2 separate regions of the Homo sapiens genome follow, and region 2 is linked to region 1. Evidence: promoter capture Hi-C in 16 types of primary human blood cells and fetal thymus (Javierre and others, 2016). All regions are on one chromosome and are shown on one strand. Each heading gives the region's core, a stretch centred on a gene start or on the middle of the fragment in contact. The rest is flanking DNA. Distances are from core to core; before and after follow the strand shown.

Evidence for each region. The method cuts DNA at HindIII sites, captures the fragments that hold promoters and counts their contacts. A CHiCAGO score of 5 or more calls a contact.
Region 2: a contact is called between a fragment that was not itself captured here and the fragment with the promoter of CAMSAP2 in region 1, in 1 of 17 cell types (monocytes). The highest score is 5.3, in monocytes.

Annotation. Positions count from the first base shown.
Region 1 is chr1:200,735,417-200,742,553 of GRCh38, forward strand. It overlaps CAMSAP2 (calmodulin regulated spectrin associated protein family member 2), which reads left to right and starts at 3,477. Exons shown (of 17, transcript NM_203459.4): 1 at 3,477-4,550. The coding sequence starts at 4,412. RefSeq lists an enhancer at 3,107-3,186 and silencers at 3,827-4,186, 4,217-4,286. The HindIII fragment of the contact is 5,817 bases long and covers 429-6,245 here.
Region 2 is chr1:200,590,286-200,597,422 of GRCh38, forward strand. KIF14 (kinesin family member 14) reads right to left here. Exons shown (of 30, transcript NM_014875.3): 15 at 3,382-3,484; 16 at 1,795-1,955. Among named protein-coding and RNA genes, the nearest start is that of KIF14, 27 kb to the right of the region's middle. The HindIII fragment of the contact is 1,359 bases long and covers 2,825-4,183 here.

The DNA of each region.
Region 1 (7,137 bases), core at 2,227-4,726:
AGTTGGGGTTCTAGTAATGCCATCTCTACTAAATGCATCACCATTGAATCAAGGGACAAGTTGCAGCAACTTACTTTGTTTCCTTCTCTTCCTTGTCTTGTTCATTTAGGTTGAAATAGTTTTCAATGAAATCCAACAAGTATTTACCCAGCACCCATTGAGAGCAAACTACTGTGCTAGGTCACATGCAACATCAAGGTGATTAGGCACGATTTCTGGCCCTGAGAATCTTGTATTGGCTTGCAGATTATTATAATGACTGGTAAAATGTTTCAGTATCTCTCTTCAACCTTTCTGGGCTATAGGTTCTTCCTAACATGATTTATGTGCTCTAGAATTCAGTCAAAGTTGCATTTGAGAACATTAGATTCAACAGATGTCTCCAAGAAACCTTCCCAATCCCTCCACCTATATATGGTCTGCCTGCAAGCTTTTTTTGGTTTGTTTTTTGTTTTTGTTTTTTTTTTGAGATGGATTCTCGCTCTGTTGCCCAGGCTGGAGTGTAGTAGCATGATCTTAGCTCACTGCAACCTCCGCCTCCCAGGTTCAAGCAATTCTCCTGCCTCAGCCTCTCAAGCATCTGGGACTACTTGCGCACATCACCACGCCCAGCTAATTTTTGTATTTTTAGTAGAGATGGGGTTTCACCATCTTGGCACGGCTGATCTCGAACTCCTGACCTTGTGATCCACCTTCCTTCAGCCTCCCAAAGTGCTGGGATTTCAGGCATAAGCCACCGCACCCGGCCTTTTTTTTTTTTTTTTTTTTTTTTTTTTTTGAGACAGAATCTTGCTATGTTGCCCAGGCTGGAGTACAGTGGTGCGATCTCTGCTCACTGCAATCTCTGTCTCCTGGGCTCAAGCAATTCTCGTGCCTTGGCCTCATGAGTAGCTGGGATTACAGGTGTGTGCCACCAGGCCTGGCTAATTTTTGTACTTTTAGTAGAGACAGGTTTTTGCTATGTTTCCCAGGCTGGTCTTGAACTCCTGACCGCAAGTGATCCACCTGCCTCAGCCTCCCAAAATGCTGGGATTACAGGCATGAGCCATTGTGCTTGGCCCCTGACTGCACTTTATATCTCTTACAGCACTTATCACTTTTACATTGTATTATAAATTTATTTATGTACATGTTAGCCTCCATAATGCGGAAAGAGAGCAGGCACAGGGAAAAGTGCCAGAGGAGTGGAGCCAGAAGACCTGTGCTTGAATTTGAAGCCAGACTCAGATATGAATCAACCATGAAATCTTGGCCATGCCACTTAATCTTTGCAATTCTCAGTCCTGCATCTAGAATTGGAAGACAATAATAATTCCTACTTCATAAAATAGATATGGAAATTAGTTATCATATGAACATGCTTTGTGAGTTGTTATCTATCTGTTAATTTTATTAACCTCCATGTGATACAGCAAAGGGCCTTCCTTGCCCATGAGAAAAACCCTATTAATATTAATTAAATTATTGGAAAAATTACATCAACCACCCTCTGGCATATTATTATTTTCAAATTCTTTTCATATCCCACATTGTTAGCAAGCCTCATCTGTTGTGTCCTACTAGGTTTAAGGAGGAGTGTTTACAGGGATTAAACAGAAACAAAGGGACCTGCTTTTTGATGGAGCTGCCCTCTGCCTTTACTAGTTGTGCAGAATAAGAGTAATTAATTTTTTTTTCTGAGCCTTAGTTTTCTCATCTGTATAATGAAGATAATACAGGATTTTATAATGATTAAAATTAGATAATGCTAGCGCTTTGGGAGGCTGAGGTGGGAGGATCCCTTGAGTCCAGGAGTTTGAGACTAGCCTGGGCAACATAGGGAGACCTCATCTCTACAAAAAATAAACAAAATTAGCTGGGTGTGGTGATGTGTGCCTGTAATCCCAGCTATATGGGAGTCTGAGATGGGAGGATTGCTTGAGCCTGGGAGGTTGAGACTGCAGTGAGCTGTGATTTTGCCATTGTATTCCAGCCAGGGCAACAAAGCAAGACCCTGTCTCAAAAAATAATAATAATAGGCTGGGCGCAGTGGCTCACATCTGTAATCCCAGCGCTTTGGAAGGCTGAGGTTGGCGGATCACCTGAGGTCAGGAGTTCGAGAGCAGCCTGGTCAACATGGTGAAACCCCATCTCTACTAAATACACAAAAAATCAGCTGGGCGTGGTGGTGCGCGCCTGTAGTCCCAGCTACTCAGGAGGCTGAGGCAGGAGAATCGCTTGAGCCCTAAAGGTGGAGATTGCACTGAGCTGAGATCTTGCCACCACTCTCCAGCCTGGGCGACTTAACAAGACTCCGTCTCAATAATAATAATAATAACAACAACAATCACTTAAAAATAAAATTAGATAATGTATTAAAATGAGACGTGAGGAGCTAGTGATTTAAGTAAGCTCAGTATGTGTTAACTTTGATAATATTCACATGTAGTCCATTAATTGAGCAATTATACTATGGGGCTGGGCACCGTATAGCTGCTGGAGATATACCCTGTCATCATGTCATCAATGGGAAAAACCGACAAGTAACTGATTATTGCCACACGATGTGACAGATGCTACGACAGAAATAAGAACAGGGTGCTCCGGGAACAACAGGGGAGGCACCTGTGTGACAGCCCTGACTGGAAAGTTGTCAGCAGCTGTCAGGGAAGGCTTCATGGAGGAAGTGACTACTGTGGAGTTTGAAGGTGCAGTAGGAGTAAGCTGGGTGGACAGAGGAACCACCCTGAGCAAGGAGGTAGAGATCTGAGAAGGCATGCTCATTGAAGAAAATAGAGAGCAGTTCTGACAAAATGAAGCTATAAAGGCCTGTAGATGCCAGATCACAAAGGGCATTAGCTTGTTTTGTGAAAGAATTTATGCTCTTTTCTGAGAGAATGGGGAGGCATTGTTGGACGTGTGCCCTCTCAGAGATAAAATTTAAGTGGAGAGCACTGAGTTAAGAAAATATCTCGATATCATGAAATTAACACAGGTTTGGAGCCCCCACAGATCCTCAATCCTGGTTAAGTTCCATGTATGACCTAATCAACTCCACCTCTCTTTCGTGGACAATCAGCAATGACATCTACCTCTCAGGATTATTGCGAGGGCTAAATGAGATAGTGCAGGTCAAGTTCGCTGCAAAGTGTGTGTCACATAATGAACATTTTAAGTAAATATCAACTCTTTTCGATGAAGCACTGTGTAAGTAGAATACGAAAGCTATTGCCAGGCCTCTCCCTCCTCCCTCCCTTCCTTTTCCTCTCTCAGCAGTGCAGGCAGCAGCAGCCAAAAGCCAGGGACGTGGAGGATGTCCACTGAAGCGAGTACTCCAGAGCGATGATTAAAAGGCAGCCGCCCCGAATCCCGGGCGCGGGCGGGGAGCGAGGCTGGGCATGCTCAGTGGGCCGGAGACGGGAGGGAAGCGGGGAGGGGGCGGGGGCGGGGGCGGGGGTTGGGGGGGGTGGGTCGGAGCCGCGCGAAGGCGCATGCTCAGTCTCCGCATCTGCTCCTTCATCCAGTGCCGCAGCCGGAAAACCGCAGCGGCGGCGGCGGCGGCTGAGGGGGAACGATCCAGCGAGCTGCAGAAAGGGGGGCAGGAAAAAATTACAAGGACATTACTGATAAGACAGGAACTGAGAGCTTGGGATTCGCGGCCTCTCCCCGGCCACCACCTTCGCCGTCAGCAAGGGAGGAAGACCCGGGAGACGGCAGCGGCGACGGCGGCAGGGGAAGGAGGAGACGGCGACGGGAGGGAGCACAGAGGAGGGGACGGGCCGGCGGCGGCCTGTGAGCCGCAGTGATTTTGACGTTTTCCGCTGCTGCGTCTCCGGCGGGCAGGGGCCGGGCTGCGCTGGGTGGGCCAGCTCGCCCCGCGCTTCCCCCTCGTCCTGCTCGTCCCTCCGCCCACCCGGGGCCTGAGGGGTCTCCCCGCTCCGAGGGAAGGGGAGAGGGAGGCGAGGGCGTGCGGGCATCGCGATGGCGGGGACATTTTCCACAACGTGATTGTTGAAGGCTCCCCCCATCCCCCCTCCCTTAAAATTCCGGGCCCTTCCAGCCTCCACCCTCCCCCAAGCCCGTGTGACTAAACCGAGACAAAGGGGAGGCGGCCTCGCTCACACGCGGGCTCGCGGGGCGGGTGGCTCGGAGGGGCGCGGGCACGGGGCGGACCTCGCGCGGACGGACGGACGGAGACGGCGCCGCCACATTCCTATGCCCGGGAGCGGCGGCGGCGGCGGCGGCGGCTCCCGCGGGAGGCGGCAGGCGCGCGGCGCGGACAGCTGAGCTTCTCCTCCGTCGGCGCCCGGGCGGACATCGCCCGGGCCCCGATGGTTTGAGCTTGCTTCTCCCTCCCTCCCGACCCCCGTGGTGGCGAGGCCACGCCATGTGAAGGTTAGGGCCGGGACATCCCGAGGAGCCGCGGTGAAAGATGGGGGATGCTGCAGACCCCAGGGAGATGAGAAAGACGTTCATTGTTCCAGCCATCAAGCCTTTTGACCACTATGATTTCTCCAGGGCCAAAATCGCCTGCAATCTGGCCTGGCTGGTGGCCAAAGCCTTTGGGACAGGTTAGTGGTGTCACCCTTTCCCTCCCCTCTTCCTCCTGATGTGGTCCACATCTCGGTTTTTGTTCCCGATTCTCGAATCCCTCCCTCCCCGTGCCTGTCTTCTCGTACAGGTTAAGGGAGATGATGGGAGGCTAGGAAGAGAAAGAAAGGAGAAATAAGGAAAGCAGGTTTGGTCTTCAATGAAGGGCACGTGAATGGTCAGGTGGGATTTGGCCAGATTCCTTTTATTGGATGGCAAAATGTCCCCCCCATCCCCCAGTGAGCAATTTTATGTTTTTACATAGAGTGGTTTTGATTTGTGGTATTTTCTTCATTGTGTTGCGTACATTTCTGCCTCAGTCATAATTGTGATTACACCACCAAGAAATCTGAGTTGGTTTCTTTATTATTGCAAGAAGGTGGATGGTGCATAGTACTATATTGATTTTGACATTTGTAATGATGGCTGCTATTCAGGCTCCGTTGGATGTAAGGTGGCCTGTGTCGAGTGCAGTATTAATTTTTGTTGTCATTCTTTAAGGCTGTATCAGCCTTCTGCACGCATGTTAAGTTCTTATTAAATCAGTTATTTAAAACCAGCGTTCAGTTTGCTGACTGTAGGGTGCAGTTTTCATTTCATATTATCAGTGAGGCATATTCTTTTTTCCAAATGTATTTTGGCTTCATAAATTAAAAGAAACAAAAACTCCCTACTTTGGGAAGTTTTTTAATAGATGAGTTTTTCGAAGGCGTGTGCTGTTGACACAGAAATTGTATAGTACAGTAGCAGTTAAACACTCCCTCCATAACCCAGTCTTTGCAAAATAACAGGAAAAGGGCCTCCCGTTATGATTCTTTAGTGTTGCTTTAGGAGCCCATGTTGTGAAATGTTAAAAAAATTAGAGAGCTGCTTTTCATTGGAAGATGCTTCTGTAATTTGGTAACTTTTAAGAGTAATTTTACAAGATTTCTGTTCCCTAGTTAATGAAGTTTAGATATATGAAATATTTGTTGAAAAGTTCCCTAGTACTCACAAATTTCCACATGTTAAATATAGGGTTTTTCAGGGGGAGGGTGACTAATTTCCAATTTTAGGACTATGTAATGTTTTGGTAAATGGTTTAGTTCAGTTTTACTGCTTAAACTTACACAGCTGAGTATTTTCAGGACTTACACATCCTACTTAAATAGCAGATTAATCTCAGTGTTTGGAAAATGATTTGAATTTGTTTTTGGGGAAACTTGACATTGATGTGATTTTATGTTTATGGCAGCCTTAATTTTACTTGAATTTTTATGCTTTGATATTAAGCTGGCATCAGGAATAAATATAGTAAATCCTTTTCAAATTATTTAAATTTTAAACATCTCTTTGAAATTGAATGTCTAGCGTAACTCATAGGAAGAAACACAAAGTGTTACTGCCTTTATATAAAAACATTCTGGCACCACTGATATAAGCAGTGAGAATAATAGATGTATTTTGGTTTTAACTTAAGCAGCACACTGAAGCCGGTATCTATTTGGATGGCAAATCAAGGCTATTTAAGTGCTTAGAAAACATGGAAAGAGGGAAATTTACATAGTCACCTATGTGGAAAAGTAGTATGTATAAAGTGGAAGGCAAAGGGAATAAGAGAAATATTTTCTTTCCATCTGGAACTGAGAGGATACTTATAGGATACAGATATCAAAATTTTGCCATGCATACACAAAAGCTTCCAGCTAGAAAATGGCCTACTTTCTGGGTATGTGTCAGGCAGGTTCGTAGATTCTAGACCACTTGAACATATTGAACACACCTGAAGAAGAAAGGAAATGAAGGGAATCTAGTATCAGTGGAATCTGATGTCTGCCAGGCACTCTGCTGGATGCTTTGCAGTAAGTTGTACGTTAGAGATTGATAACAAGTCTCTGATGTAGGTAGTGTGTTCCCCATTTAAAAAATAGGAGGAAATCAGTGCATAGAGAGGTTAACTTTCCTACTATCACAGTGTTAGTAAGTGGCAGAAGTGAGTTTTGATTTGAGGTCTGACTCAAAAGGGTAAAGGTATTGGTGGAGGTGGAACACTGCTGTTAGATACCCAGCACTCTGAATACATTACTTCATTTATTCCTGCAGCAACCCTGTAGATACTGTTCTCATTTTGCAGATAAGGTAACTGGCTCACAGATTAATTTGCACAAGATTAAACATCTGGCAAGTGATGTGTTCTGCATGTCTGACTCTGAAGCCTTTGCTTATTACTCTATACCGTTCTGCAGAGTAACCGTTTTATCTGCAGGTGTGAAAAATGTGCACATAGTACATATTGAAGTCTAATTTTTTCTTTAAAAATTGTACAAATCTTAATTCATTTTCAGATAGATGATATTGTTGGCTATTACATTTGCCTTGGCAGCAGTTGGAATGGATGAAAAGACCATATTCAAATGGGATGAAAAACAAGTTTAGAAGACCTTGAGTGACTTAGTAACAATATATTAATACATTATTAAGAATGTTATGTTTGTACATTTTGTTTATTCTTTATCAACAGTCTTTCAAAACAAATTTATATGGAGTGAATAGAAAAAAATTAGGAATTTTTTTGATGTAAATATTCTT
Region 2 (7,137 bases), core at 2,254-4,753, 150 kb before region 1:
AGATGTTTATAGGGTACATGTTAAGAATTCTTTATACATCATAATAGTTCTTAATCCTACTGAAAAGTTTTCCATTGAATGAAAGTTTCAATCTTAAAACTTGATTTCTGACATTCTATCAACAGTGTTTTTAAAATTTTCACTGGCTCTACAATTGTTTACACTCAAAATTTAAACACGCAGGACGAAAAATTGCTTATTTCTAACTTAGTTACTATTGCAGATGCCTGACATTTAAATAAAATCAGTGCTTTAGTAACTACATTATACAGAAATTTCCATTCCCAATTTTACTGAAAAAAAGAATAAGAGTATAAAAAAGAAGGTTAGTGGATATCACAGCTAGGGAGAGAGGAGAATGGCTATTGTTTAACAAATACAGAGTTTCAGTTTGGAATAATAAAACATTTCTGGAGATGGATGATGGTGATGGTTGCACAACAACGTGAAGGCACTAGGGTGGGCACAGTGACTCACGCCTGTAATCCCAGCACTTTGGGAGGCCAAGGCAGGTGGACTGCTTGAGCTCAGGAGTTCGAGACCAGCCTGGGCAACATGGTGAAACCCCATCTCTACAAAAAAATTCAAAAATTAGCCAGGCGTGGTGGTGTGCGCCTATAGTCTCACATGCTCGGGAGGCTAAGGTGGGAGGATGGCTTGAGGCCAGGAGGTGGAAGTTGCAATGAACCCAGATCATGCCAACTGTACTCCAGCCTAGACGACAGAGCCAGACTCCATCTCAAAAAAAAACCAAAAAACAAACAAAAAAAAAACCACAAAACAATGTGAAGGTACTTAATGCCTTTGGACTATACAATTAAAAATGGCTAACATGGTAAATTTTGTGCTATTTATATTGTATTCAATTAAAAAAATTCTTTTTAAAGGGCAAAAGCAGGTTGAGGCTTCTTAAAAGGTGACAAAGCAGTTAGTCTAGCCTATAACCAGTTCTTGATTCCTCCTCCTTTCATCCTCTTTAGTCACCAGGCCTTGTCAATCTTATCTCCTTTATGTTTCCTTCCTACCTAATCACACTATATTTACCTTACTTCAATAGTCTCTTAGCTGCATTTGCAGGTTTTAAGCTTGCTCTATCTCTAATGCATTCTCCAGATTTGAGTGCCAGTGATCTCTCTAAAAATGTAATTCTGATTATGAGTGTCTCACGTCTGCTCAAAATTCTTTAATGTTTCCCTTATCCTTTAAGATAAAGTCCAAACTCTTTAGCATTTTATTTGTATATACTTTACCATTTAGCTTACAAGGATACTACTTATGCCAGAAATCCTACGATACTGCATGAACTAAAACTGGGGCACAAGAAGAAAAGAAAAACAAAAGTACACTCTCCCAGTCTTCCTCTGGCTAAATTCTAATCGTCTATTGGGATTCTCCTCTATGGGACGTCTTCTCATCTTCTAGAAACCTTCCCTGATAACCGGTCAGGGCCAGGTGTCACCCCGTGAGCTTCCACACCACACAGTTCGGGACTCTTGTCAGAGAACTGTGTCATAGCACTGTTATAACTGTCAGCCCCTCGAGATGATGAATTCTTTCAGCACATGAGCTAAATTTCAATCCTTATTCTTTATATCTCCAGCATTTGGTACAGTGACAGACACATAATAGATGGTCAATATATATTTGGTGAACTAATGAATGTACTAAGAGAAAAAATTATATCACTAGAAACCAGCACCCAAAGAGTTAATTACTAGAGACTGGCACAATGTGATTAACTCTGTTGTAGATCTCTCTCATACACTTACTATTTCATATCAACAGCATACTTACTGTGATCTCTGTGCCATGAGCAACTCATTTTTTGCAAATTCAAAGTCTTTTGGACCCTCACTTATAGGAGTATCTCTTCCAGATGGCCTTTTTCCTTTCTGGACTTCTACTGGATGATTAAATCTAAAATAATGATCTCCACCAAGAATCACTCGATCACCCTAAAGCACACAAAAAAATGTACTACTTGAGGTGAGTCTCAACCAAAAAATTAAATGAGAAAATTTATTTTGCCCAACAATTCAATATAGTCTAGTATTAATGATAAACATAAACATCATAGCAACTAACATTTATTACTTTTTTTTTCTTTTGGCACAGAGTCTCACTATGTCACCCAGGCTGGAGTGCAATGGCACAATCTCAGCTCACTGCAACCTCGGCCTCACGGGTTCAAGCAATTCTCCTGCCTCAGCCTCCCGAGCTGCTGGGATTACAGGCGTGTGCCACCACACCCAGCTAATTTTTGCATTTTTAGTAGAGATGGGGTTTCACCATGTTGGCTAGGCTGGTCTCGAACTCCTGACCTCATGATCCACCCACCTTGGCCTCCCAACGTTTATTACTTTGTATATACCAAACACTGCATTAAGCACATTACACATATAGTCATATGTCTCTTAACAACAGGGATATGTTCTGAGAAGTACACTGTTAGGTGATTTCATAGTTGTGTGAATATCATGGAATGTACTTACACAAACCTGGATGGTATAGCCTACTACACACTTAGGCTATATGGCATAGCCTATTGCTCCTAGGTTACAAACCTGTACAGCATGTTACTGTACTGAATACCATAGGCAACTATAACACAATGGTAAATAATTGTATATCTAAACAGAAAAAAATACAGTAAAAATACAGTATTATAATCTTATGGGACCACTGTTACATATGTGGTCCCTCATTGCCCAAAACATCATTATGAAGTGCAAGACTTTATGTTATCTCATTTACGATTCACAACAACTCAGTGAGATACATATAATCATCCCAATTTTAGGAATGAGGAAACTAAACAGCACAAAGCTTAATAATAACAAGAGACATTCATTGAGAGCTTACTATTTGCAGATACTATTCTAAGAACTATATACACAAATTATTATTTCAGTTAATCCTTCACTATCTCTGAAAGGCAGGATATATAGAGTCACAATAGGTCTGGGTTTGCCTGTAACACACTGCTGATGTTTGTTCTCTTGATGTAATTATTAATAATGATCTCAAAAGTGTCCTGACTTGGGTGACATTGTTTAATCATCTAGTTAAATAACTTGCCAGACGTCACAGAGCAAATGGCAAAGCCAGGATTTCAACCCTGTCTGTCTGATTCTAAAGCCTAGCTCTTTATAGGACACATAATGATGCTATTAGTGGTCAGCTCTTCAGGTACTGATTCATATAAATGTAACTTTTGTCTTTGCACAAGAAAGCAATTAATAGGAAAAAGAATTTTTGAAATGAAAAAGTCCTTAATCTGCTTCAACACCCTTATCTTATAGAGAAAACCAGAACTCAAAGAAATTAAATGACTTATCCAAAGTCGAACAGTTTCTTATATTATAGCACCCATCCACTTACATGACGTAATACTGTGATTTCCAAAATATGTTTTCCATTTACATATGTCTTTGCTTCCCCAACTGGGATAATACTCACTGTCCCACCAAAATTTTTGATAGTACTGTTAAAATAAGAAGCACATAGTTAACAATTATAGAACACACTAAAAAGTAAGAAAAAGGCAATATGGGATAATTCTGCTTGGGCTATTCCTTTGGTGTTAAGATTCATACCAATATGTAACAATAATTTAAAATTATTTTATTTTCCTCCAACTAGTTTTTTTTTTTTTTTTTTTTTGAGACGGAGTCTTGCTCTGTCGCCCAGGCTGGAGTGTAGTGATACAATCTCAGCTCACTGCAAGCTCCACCTCCTGGGTTCAAGCAATTCTCCTGCCTCAGCTGCCTGAGTAGCTAGGATTACAGGCACCCACCACCATGCCCTGCCCAGCTAATGTTTGCATTTTAGTAGAGATGGGGTTTTGCCATGTTCGCCAGGCTGGTCTCTAATTCCTGACCTCAAGTGATCCACCTGCCTCGGCCTCCCAAAATGCTGGGATTACAGGCATGAGCCACTGCATCGAGCCTCCAATTAGATTTTGAAGTTTGGTGAAAAAAGCCTGGCCTCTAGCAATCCGATCCACCTGTGGTGGGAACATTCTTCATTGGGTGTATTTTTATTATAACTTCTTTGAAAACAAAAACCTTCCCCCAAAAATTCAAAAAAAAAAAAAAAAAAAAAAAAACTAGCAAAAAACATTAACATACTGCCAGTGATTTCTTATGAATAAAACAGTTTTAAGTGTTTTTTTAATTTTCTAAGCTTCTGGTTTTACATATGAGCTTTAATAACAGAAAGAACAAATATTTCTCCCCTTTTGAAAAGTAGGGTACTACAGAGGAAGGAAAAACATGGAGATCAAAGTGTACCCCTTAAGACATCTAATTTACTGGATGATAAGGTGATACTGTGGAAAATCAGCTATAAGTGCTACATATTTGAGTCTTTTTATTCAGAGAATAGGAAAGAAACTCCAAAGTCCAATTCATCTTTGGATTAACGGGATAGAAAGAAAAACTGCAACAAAAGCTGAGTCCTAACCAAAGATCTTTTTAGCTGTGGATTAGGCTCCAAGATCTGTGATTAGAGAATAATAGTTTAATTAAAGCATCTAGAGAAAAGTACATGGAAACAATAGTTCACCCTTAGGCACTACATCCCTCCTACCAGTCTAGTGTCTTATCCAGGTGAAGGTTTATACAATGTGTACTTGTTCTGATCCCTTTCCTCTCCTAATTCTATCTACTCTGCTCTCAAAATTCCATGGCCTACCATTCTGGACGCCCCACAATCTGGCTTCAACCACCAACCTCCCTCATCTGCCACTATTTTCCCATAAGAACCCCATTTCACACTTAATCAACCATATGAATACTCTGAATTTGCCTTAATGTCAGCTTTCCTCCTTTCCTTGAGTCATTCCTTCCAGATAGGACATCCTCTCCCTTCTTGCAACCATTCTTGAAGGCCCAATTTAGAGTCCTCTAAGAAGCTGTTCTTTAGGGTTTAAGTTAGAAGTCAACTCTTCCTTCTCTTCACTTCTAAGCAGTAAGTATGCAGTACTCATAACACTTAATATGCATTAATAGATACTGAAGTTCTTTTTTTCTCTTTCACATGACCAGCCTCAGCCATGAAGTTCTTTTATTCATTAAGCCTCCAAGAGCCAGTTATGTGTCAGCAATGAAGACAGACATGAAATCAGCTTTCATAAAGTTCATGGTCTAGTGAACAAGATAAACTGAGGAAGGTACGAAAAATGGAAGTAGAGAGTTAGAGGCAAGCAAGAGGCTTCCAAGTTCCTTACTGGACTCTTAACTCTTTGGGAGCATGTTCTGTATCTTTGCCACAGATGTTAATAATACTGTATTTATTTGTTAAAGAAAATAATTAATTAATAAAAGAGCAAAAGAACCTAAAGAACAAAAGGATATGCCCTAACAGATATAAAGATTCATGGCCAGGTGCAGTGGCTCACGTCTGTAATCCCAGTACTTTGGGAGGCCAAGGTGGGTGGATCACCTGAGGTCAGGAGTTCAAGACGAGCCTGGCCAACATGATGAAATCGTCTCTACTAAAAATACAAAAAACTAGCTGGGCATGGTGGCTGCTACTCAGGAGGCTGAGGCACGAGAATCGCTTGAACCCAGAAGGTGGAGGTTACGGTGAGCCAAGATCACACTACTGCACTCCAGCCTGGGTGATAGAGTGAGACTCCATCTCCAAAAAAAAAAAAAAAAAAAAAGATATAAAGATTCATTACAGGCCGGTCGTGGTAGCTCACACCTGTAATCCCAGCACTTTGGGAGGTCAAGGTGGGCGGATCACCTGAGGTGGGAGTTTGAGACCAGCCTGGCCAACATGGTGAAACCCCATCTCTACTAAAAATACAACAATTAGCCAGGCGTGGTAACAGACATCTGCAATCCCAGCTACTCAGGAGGCTGAAGCAGGAGAATTGCTCGACTCCAGGAGGTTGCAGTGAGCTGAGATGGTGCCACTACACTCCAGCCTGGGCAACAGAGCAAAACTCTGAAATCAAAAAATAAATAAATAAAGATTCATTACAAAGCTCAAGTAATTACGACCATGGGGTATTAGTAGGAAGAAACAGATTCTGATATTTTTAGAAATTTTTTGTAGGAGCACTACAGATTCCAAAAGAAGCAATAAACTATTTAATATTTGGTACTGGGAGAAATGGCTATTCATGTGGAAAATAAATGAATTTAGATCCCTAATTCACACCAAATAAAAAATTCCAGACATTCAATAACTTAAATGTGAAAGCAAAACTTCAAAACATCTAGAAGAAAATTTAGAACATCTCTATGACCTCAATGTACAACAGTCTTTTTTTTTTTTTTTTTTTTTGAGTTAGAGTCTCACTCTATTGCCTAGGGTGGAGTATAGCAGAGTCATCTTGGCTCACTGTAGCTTCCACCTCCCAGGTTCAAGTGATTCTTATGCCTCAGCCTCCCAAGTAGCTGAGACTATAGGTGCCCACCACCATGCCGGGCTAATTTTTGTATTTTCAGTAGAGATGAGGTTTCACCATGTTGGCCAGGCTGATGTTGAACTCCTGGTCTCAAGTAATCTGCCGCCTCAGCCTCCCAAACTGTTAGGATTATAGGCGTGAGCCACCGCACCTGGCCAGAACACTCTATCTCTCTCTCTCTCTTTTTTTTTTTTTTTTTTTTTTTTTGAGACATAGTCTCGCTCTGTCACTCAGGCTGAAGTACAGTGGCATGATGATCTCGGCACACTGCAACATCCACCTCCTAGGTTCAAGCGATTCTCATGCCTCAGCCTCCTGAGTAGCTGGGATTACAGGCAGGTACCACCACGCCCAGAAAATTTTTTGTATTTTTAGTAGAGACAGGGTTTCACCATGTTGCCCAGGCTGGACTCAAACTCCTGAGCCCACACACCTGTGCTAGGATTACAGGCATAAGCCACCACGCCCAGCCAGAACATTCTTTCTTTAAGACATAAAAACTGACAATCATAAAGGAAAAGACTGATGCCAGGTACTACAATAAAATTAAGAACTTCAATCAATCAAAGGCACCAGAGAGAGTAAAAAGATGTTACACGTTAGAAAAAAAGATATTTATACCAAAAAGCTCACGAAAGATTGGCAACTCCTACAAATTATTAAGAAATAAGCAAATCAGTTGAAAAATCAACAAAAGATATGAAGAGGCAAGTTAC